2 separate regions of the Homo sapiens genome follow, and region 2 is linked to region 1. The links are contacts of gene promoters, found by promoter capture Hi-C in blood cells and fetal thymus (Javierre and others, 2016). All regions are on one chromosome and are shown on one strand. Each heading gives the region's core, a stretch centred on a gene start or on the middle of the fragment in contact. The rest is flanking DNA. Distances are from core to core; before and after follow the strand shown.

The links. The method cuts DNA at HindIII sites, captures the fragments that hold promoters and counts their contacts. A CHiCAGO score of 5 or more calls a contact.
Region 2: a fragment that was not itself captured here is called in contact with the fragment with the promoter of OTOF in region 1 in 2 of 17 cell types (M0 macrophages and M1 macrophages); the score reaches 5.7 in M0 macrophages.

Annotation. Positions count from the first base shown.
Region 1 is chr2:26,556,539-26,560,569 of GRCh38, forward strand. OTOF (otoferlin) reads right to left here and starts at 2,218. Exons shown (of 47, transcript NM_194248.3): 1 at 1,955-2,218. The coding sequence starts at 2,033. RefSeq lists enhancers at 1,579-2,372, 2,373-3,165. The HindIII fragment of the contact is 8,824 bases long and covers 1-4,031 here.
Region 2 is chr2:26,751,655-26,755,685 of GRCh38, forward strand. No RefSeq gene overlaps it. Among named protein-coding and RNA genes, the nearest start is that of SLC35F6, 11 kb to the right of the region's middle. RefSeq lists enhancers at 1,383-2,130, 2,131-2,878, 2,879-3,626. The HindIII fragment of the contact is 1,461 bases long and covers 1,114-2,574 here.

The DNA.
Region 1 (4,031 bases), core at 968-3,467:
GAGAGCAAGGGTTGCAAATAAACTAATTCCTGTGTGGTCAGTGAGGCTAAAGGCCCAGCCCTTCACTGCTCCAAGGAGAAGATGGGTGTCAGACAAGGTGCTGGCCCCCAGGTGGCCCAGGAGCAGATAAAGAGCTTGCAAGATTGAGTACTCAGGATGAGGTCCTGAGAGCTGGGACCACCGTGCCTCAGCTCCTCCGTGAATGCCACGCGCAGTGTTCTACCCCTGAACCTTGGTTTCTCGGCCTGCAAGTGGGCCTGTCCGGTGCAGCCTGGACCGTTCCAGCACAGCTGCAGCAGGATGGCAACCTGTAGCTTAACCGCCCCACACTATGCTGCCCGTGGAGCTCAGGGCCACATTTCACAGATGAAAGGACACATTTGCTTTTTCTAAAGCCAGCATGAGCCTGCAGGTGGCACACAGAGGGAGATCCAGGGTGCTGCAGAGAAAGCAGTCAGTGGGTTGGGGTGGGAGGCAAAAGGCAGCCCAGCCCACACCTCCCTCTCCCTCCTGCCTAACCTCCGCCTGCCGGCAGGGCCACTGCCATCACCTCCACCCCTGCCTGTCCCTATGAACACAAGCTGCAATGTGGGCATCCCAGGGCCTCTGGGTAGGTGATGTGGGTGCCCCAGGGCTCTTGCTGGAATGTTCTGCCAATGGTCTCTCCCATCCCTTCCAACAGAGGTGCAGACACTGTGTCCAGCCTGGGCCCCAAGGCTCACTTTGCTCTTTAGTATAGGGGGGTCCTCTCTGCCCCCTTCTCACCACCTCGTCCCCATCCCACTCTCAGACCCCTCTCTCGGGAGAAGGGGCCATGTCTAGTGAGAAGTACCCCCAACCCTCAGGGCTGGGCAGCAACCACATGGAGAGGCAGAGGTGGGTGGTGAAGGACAGAGTCAGCCTGGCCCTGCCTTTCCCCACTTAAAATGCTCAGGGGCTCCGCTGTCCCCGGGGTCAGGTCCAGCCTCGCCTCCTTGCCCTGCTTGGCTCTCTGGCCTCCGCTCCTGCACCCTCTCTGAGCTGTAGACACATGGAACCTCTTTCAGTTCCAGAGTTTCAGCTCCTCTCTCAGCTCTGGGCACACTGTTTCCTCTGCCTCCTCAGTCCTTACCTCCTCTCCTAGCTCCCACCCGCTGGTCCTTCGGGTATTAGCTGAGTGTTACTTCCTCCGGGAAGCCTTCCCTGACCACCGGTCACCAGCCTGGGTGAGGGTGCTGCTTCTGTAGCTTGCATGCTGCACCCCCACCTTCTGTCTCACATACCTGTCCTGCTTGTTCCACGCCTGCCCAACAGATGCAGGCTCCTTGGGGCTGGGGCTGGGTTGTGCTCAGCTCTGTGTTTCTACCCCTATCCTTGGGACACAGTAGATCATAATAAATGGTCGCTGAATACAGGAGTGAAAAGGATGAGAAAAGACCAGACAGAAGAGAGGCGAGGGGCTCCCGGGGTTCCCGCCCATGAATAGATCTAAAAGAAGCCAACAGTGTCCCCCATCACTCTGGGGCCCAGGGAGCTACTGGCTGCCTGGTTTCTCCCAGTCACCCTGGGTGCCCCAGGCTCCATACCCGGCCCCCACCCTGTGCTCAAGGAAATCAACCTGCAGGAGAGGGAGAGAGAGAGAAGGAGGGGGTCCTGGGTCTCCCTGAGCTCAGGGATGTGGTCCTCACTTCTGCCTCCCCAGGCAGAGGGCTCTGTGCCCTGCCCGGGGAACTGGCATGTTGGCAAGCACAAGGAGACACAGGCATGGAAGAACAGGGGACCCTGATTTTCCAGAAATCACAATGGCCAGTCAGTCCCAGGCAGATGACTACCTGTGAAAAGGCTCGTCGCCCCAGCCCCTGCTAGAACTTTTCCCACCCATCCTCCCAGCCCTGTCCTATCCCCGGCCACCTCCAGAGCATGGGCTGGTCCAGCTCTCAGAGCTGGCGTCCCTCTGAGACAGCGGCTTCCCTACCTCGGAAAGTCACTTTGGCGATCCGGTCGCCCCTGCCCCGCAGCTCCGAGACTGTCTTGAGGTGGATGAGCAAGGCCATGCTGGTGTGGGCTGCCTGGCACTGCCAGGCAGGAGCAGCGGGAAGGAGCTAGCCGGTGGAGCACGGCTCACACGCCTCTCTCTTCTCTGCCGCTGCCTCCTCCTCCTCCTCCCGACCCCCCTCCGATGCTGCCCACAGAGACCAAGGCAACCAAGCCGAGCTAAGCTGCTCCTGCAGCGACTCACAGAGCCTCACAGCCCCCGCCCCTCCAAGTTGTCAGCCCAGCGTGTGTGTATCGGTGTGTGCGTGTGTGTGTGTGTGTGTGTGCACCCAATGTGCAGCCTGGGAGTGCGGCAGAGTTGGAATTCATTATTCAGCAGCCGCCGGCTCCCAGATAAAGCTCTGTCCAGCTTCAGGTGTCTTCTCCCAGCTCCTGGAAGGGAGGCTCTGCCCACCCCTCTGCAGGGCTCTGCTGCTTCCCTGCTAAGCAAGCCCTGCCACCAGTAGTGGGCACAGAGGAGTGGGCATGAGCATAGGTAGGGTGGATGTGGGGCGGGGGGCACTCCCACCCACAGGGGCACACTACAAGAAGAAGGGAATGTATTTGTCCACCTACGCCCACCTCTTCCCTGCTGGAGACTGTGCCCCCAAGAGGCTGGGCCCTGAGCCCTGCCCTGGGATCCCTGTTTCTGAATCTCAGGAAGCAGAGAGGCTGGGGCTGCTGCCTGAGGGGAGGCTCAGGACCAGGCCATGCATGATGGAGATGGCTGGTTGTGGAGGCAGCAGAGGCTTATGTGCTACCAGGGGCCATGTTTAAGGATCCAGGGCACTAACCTAGCCCCACCCCAAGGCTGGGGGTCAGGCAGGCTAGCGAAGGTAAGCCAGGCTGATGTTTGCTTTCCAGCCAGAGGAGCAGAATTGAATGGCCTTCTGCTGTTATAAGCTGCTAGGGGCAGGAGAAGGGATGTCTATAGGGAAATTTCTAAGGACCAAAAGAGAACTGCCCCCTCCTGTCTTCCAGCAGCATACACCAAGGAAAGGGACGCTGGGGGCCAGAATCCCTGATGCTGGAATCTGTGCAGGGTCATCTGCAGCCTTGTTCTTGCTATTCATTCTTGGTGGAATGCCCTCCACCCCACCCTGGACTCAGCTTGAGTGCCTGCTCCTGGAGGTGCCTCTGTACCCGCACCCCAGCTGGGTTGGGGTCCTCCTCTGTGCTGCTCCTGCCTCCTCTCATCTTACTGAGTCCTGGGGCTGCTTCCCTTGCCTTTTCCCCTCCTGACCTCAGGAGGGCCCTGGAGCACAGCATCCCTCTACCCCAGAGCCCCACATGGTATCCTGTGCACCGTAGGATGCCCAATTACTGTTGAAAGGATAAAAGAGTGAGCTCAGGGATCTACCTGAAACAGAGTCTAAAGGTTAAAAAGAGAAATACTAATTTTTCACAGCATGGTAACAAGAGGTTACTTCTTTTGAATTCTGCATTCCAAATAACCTACAGTATGTCCCAAGAGCCTTCTTTCCTCCTTCTAGATATTTCCTTGCTACTGTGCCCTATTTTTCTTTTTCTACTTACGTTTTTTTCCTTTGCACTTTTTCCTAACCAATTCTTGCTTACCTTTCTCACATTTATCTAATCATATTGAATTTAAAAATGTCTTAGAGTATTCTGTTTATTGAATACAAGTATGAATGCTAAATTTTCAAAAGCTAGATAAGTTTAATGTCTTAAAAAAAAAAACACCTAAATTCACTAGCATTTTCCATCCATGAGGTCATCAGGTGATCTGTGTTTTTAAGGCTTGGTGACTACAAGGTACAACAACAACAACAGAAAATATCTTCTTCCTTGGTTCTCTGGAGGTCCTCCCCTGAAAGGAGTGAATTTCATGAGGCCTCTTATAGACCCTGTGCATCTTTAGGAAAAAGCCCATGATCCTGCCCTAGCCAAGGCATTGATCTATGCTGAATCTCACTTTCCACATCCATAAAATGGTAGCAATTCCACTCAGCAGCTCTCAATGGAGTCAGCTGGCCTTTCTGAAAACCTAAGAGACA
Region 2 (4,031 bases), core at 594-3,093, 190 kb after region 1:
GTTAGTCCAGTGACTGAATTTCAGACTTCTACCCACCAGAATTGTATGATAATAAGTTTCTGTTGCTGGAAGTCACTCACTCTGTTTGTGGTAATTATAGCAGCAACAGGAAGCTAATACAACCAATAAAACTAGCGAGAGAACTTGTTCTATAGATCATTTTTACTTTCTCCCAAAAGTTCAAAAAAATCTTTTTTTTTTTTGTGAGGTGGGGGTCTCACTCTACTGCCCAGGCTGGAGTACAGTGGCACGATCATGGCTCACTGCAGCCTCAACCTCTCCAGGCTCAGGTGATCCTCCCACCTCAGCCTGGGACTACAGGCACGTGCCACCATGCCCAGCTAATTTTTTATCTTTTGTAGAGATGGGGTTTCACCACGTTGCCCAGGCTGGTTTGGAACTCCTGGACTCAAGTGATCCTCCTGCCTCGGCCTCCCAAAGTGCTAGGATTACAGACGTGAGCCATCACGCCTGGCCAAAAATATCTTTTTACAGTTCATTGGTTCATAAGTTGTATTACTTTAAATGTAATTAAGCATTTGTAGGGCCAGTGAATTTTTTTATTACTATCAGGTTTAAACTAGTTCATATAAATCTAAGCCAAATAAATAAATACAGGGAGTTGACTAGCTCACAGTCATTTGCTATTGACCTGAGCAAGTCACCTTCTTTCTGGGCCTGGGTTTTCTATTCTGAAAAGCGGGGGGTTGGATAAGAAGTTATGTCAGGGGCAATCCACGCCTGGGCTTCATGAGACCTGGGAATACCCTGAAACTGTATGCAAAAGAGGAAAGTGTTCTCAATCTGTCTGTGCTCCGAATTTTCTAGATGTGTGTTAAATACAGGGCTGGGTGCAGTGGCTCACATCTGTAATCCCAGCACTTTGTGAGGCCAAAGGACAAGGATCATTTGAGCTCAGGAGTTCAAGACCAGCTTGGGCAACATAGCAACACCCTGTCTCTATTTTTTTAAAAATAACACATTTTTTAAAAAATTAAAAAAAGAGAATGGTGTTAAATACAGGAACCTAGGCTTCCCTAGGGTGAAGGCCATGTCCAAGGGGGCTGGTATCAATTTAGAGATGTAACTGAGTCAGAGGGAGAAAATATCGTAAGCTTAGTCAACAGCATATTAGAAAGGAAAATGTGCCTGAGATGCACTAATTCAATTAGCTGTTGTCATAGTCACTGTCTCTGAGCAAGGGCTCTGAGCTGGATGCCAGACCAGCAGGGTGCCAGACTGAGAAATGAAATGCAGGATACATATCTAATTTGAATTTTAGACAAATAATGAATCATTTTTTACTCTAAGCGTAACTGTAATAGGTTAATTGCCTGACACTCCTGTCAAATCAATACACCCAGACACGGGGTTGCAGCAGAGAAAGAGGTTTAATACAGGTCCACTGAGAAGACAGGGAGGAAACTTCAAATCTATCTCCCCAGGGAGTCAGGGGCTGGGGGTTTTTTGTTGTTTGTTTTTTGTTTTTTTTGAGACAGGGTCTCTCTCTGTTACCCAGGCTGGAGTGCAGTGGCGCAAAAATGGCTCGCTGGAGCTCGACCTCCTGGGCTCAAACAATCCTCTGCCTCAGCCTCCCATACAGCTAGTATCACAGGCGTGTGCCCATGCCTGGTTAAAATTTTTTTTTTTTTAATAGAGACAGGGTCTCACTTTGTTGCCTAGACTGGTCTCCTGGGCTCAAGCAATCCTCCCACCTTGGCCTCCCAAAGTGCTGGGATTTCAGGTGTAAGCCACTTCGCCTGGCCTGGGGCTAGGGTTTTTAAGGGTTTTGGAGAGGGCTGAAGTGGGGAGATCGTTGATTAGGCAAAGAGTGCATGAAGTCATGGGACAAGGAAATGAAGAAACTATTCTTATGTTGCTTTCATTCCTCTGTGGAGGTCTTCAAACTGGTTGGCATCAGCTGTTTCACTGGAATTCAGGGACCTGAAAAACATCTTAAGCAATTCTTAAACAAAACCCTTATGATTCTTTTTTTTTTTTTTTTTGAGATGGTCTCACTCTGTTGCCCAGGCTGGAGTGCAGTGGCACAATCATGGCTCACTATAGCTTCAACCTCCCCAGGCTCAGGTGATGCTCCTACCTTAGCCTCCCGAATAGCTAGGACTATAGGCACAAATCCACCACACCTGGCTATTTTTTGTATTTTTTGTAGAGACGGGGTTTTGTCACGTTGGCCAGGTTGGTCACTGAGTTCAAACGATCCACCTGCCTCAGCCTCCCAAAATGCTGGGATCACAGGCCCAGCCAAGCCTTATGATTCTAATGTCAGAGATCCAATCTAAAGGAACAATGGGGATTCAAGTGGTCAGTATCTAGTGCTATGCGACTTTCTGTTACAAGGAAGTGGGTGAAAGTGCAGCCTCATTATGCTTAATTATAACTATATTTCTGTCCAAGATTCTTGTTAAGCCTGTGAGGACAGCTTCATAAGTATGTCCTAAACACTAGGGACATACTCATACTACAAAGTGACTCATTGCTTATCTGAAATCAAATTTACCTGGGAGTTTCTGTTTTATCTGAATCTGACTTGATCCTGCTCTTAGAGGACCAAGCTTCCAGAATCTAATGACCACCTCAAAATTAGTGATCAGGGCTGGTCGTGGTGGCTCACACCTGTAATCCCAACACTTCAGGGGGCCGAAGCGGGTAGATCACCTGAGGTCAGGAGTTCGAGACCAGCCTAGCCAACATGGTGAAACTGCATCTCTACTAAAAAGACAAAAATTAGCCAGGCATGGTGGCAGTCACCTGTAGTCCCAGCTACTCGGGAGGCTGAGGCAGGATAATTGCTTGAACCTGGGAGGCAGAGGTTGTAGTGAGCCGAGTTCGTATCACTGCACTCCAATCTGGGTAACAGAGTGAGACCTTGTTTCAAAAAAAAAAAGATTAGTGATCAGCACTGATGGGGGTGAGAGGTGGGAGCGGGGAGGTGGGTAGAGACCAAAGGAGATGATAAGAAAGAAAACAGAGGCCAGATGTAGTGGCTCATGCCTGTAATCCTAGCACTTTGAGAGGCCAAGACCTTGAGGTCAGGAGTTTGAGACCAGCATGGCCAACATGATGATGAAACCCTGTCTTTACTACAAATCCAAAAGTTAGCCAGGCTTGGTGGTGCACGCGTGTAATCCCAGCTACTTGGGAGGCTAAGGCAGGAGAATTGCTTGAACCCAGGAGGTGGAGGTTGCAGTAAGTCGAGATTGTGCCACTGTACTCCAGCCTGGGTGATAGAGAAAGACTCCATCTAAAAAAAAAAATTAAATTAAAAAAGAAAGAAAAAAGAGAAGGTTTGAGAATGACTTTAGGAGGGCCTGCAGCTAGAAGGAGCAGGTGAGTTATAATCTGATCATCTCTGGTCACCATAGAAACCAGCTGTAAATTCAGCCAGAATGAGCTGATGAGCTCCAATATCTATGCCTCTCTGCCAGTGTAGACAGTCCACACTCCCTTCCTCCAAGATCTAGTCTTGTCAGACCTGCTTCCAGCCGGAATCCACCCCAGTCCTCTTCCTCTCAAGCCTCTTGTTCCTCTTTCTAGCCACAGTTCCAGGTGACTGCCCATCAATACCAACCCCGCTGGGAGAGACAGGCAGCAAGATACCCAGTCCTTGCCCAGGAGGAAGTCACATTCTAGCCAGGGAGTAGACTACACTGGAGAGAAATGGCCCAAGGATACACAGCAAAAGCTTGTTTAAAGAAAAAACAAAAGCAGGTGTGACCTGGCTTGTCTGCCCGCATCTTTCTGTCCTTTCCAGGGTAAAGCAACTCTCTCTTAATCCAGAATGTAATTACATTGATTGGGAAAGCATTCAGTCTTTCAGACAAGCCACATGCTGGCAGTAAGCATTGAATACAAATGCAGGGTTTGCAGTGACTGGAAGTTAGAGCCTGCTTGCAGGTAGCATGCAAATGTGTTCAAAATGTCCCCAACTTTGGGAGAAAAGGCTGGAAGTCTGGATCAAACTCGTATGCAAACCATGAGGAGTGCTTTTGAAGGCACAGCGGGCTAAG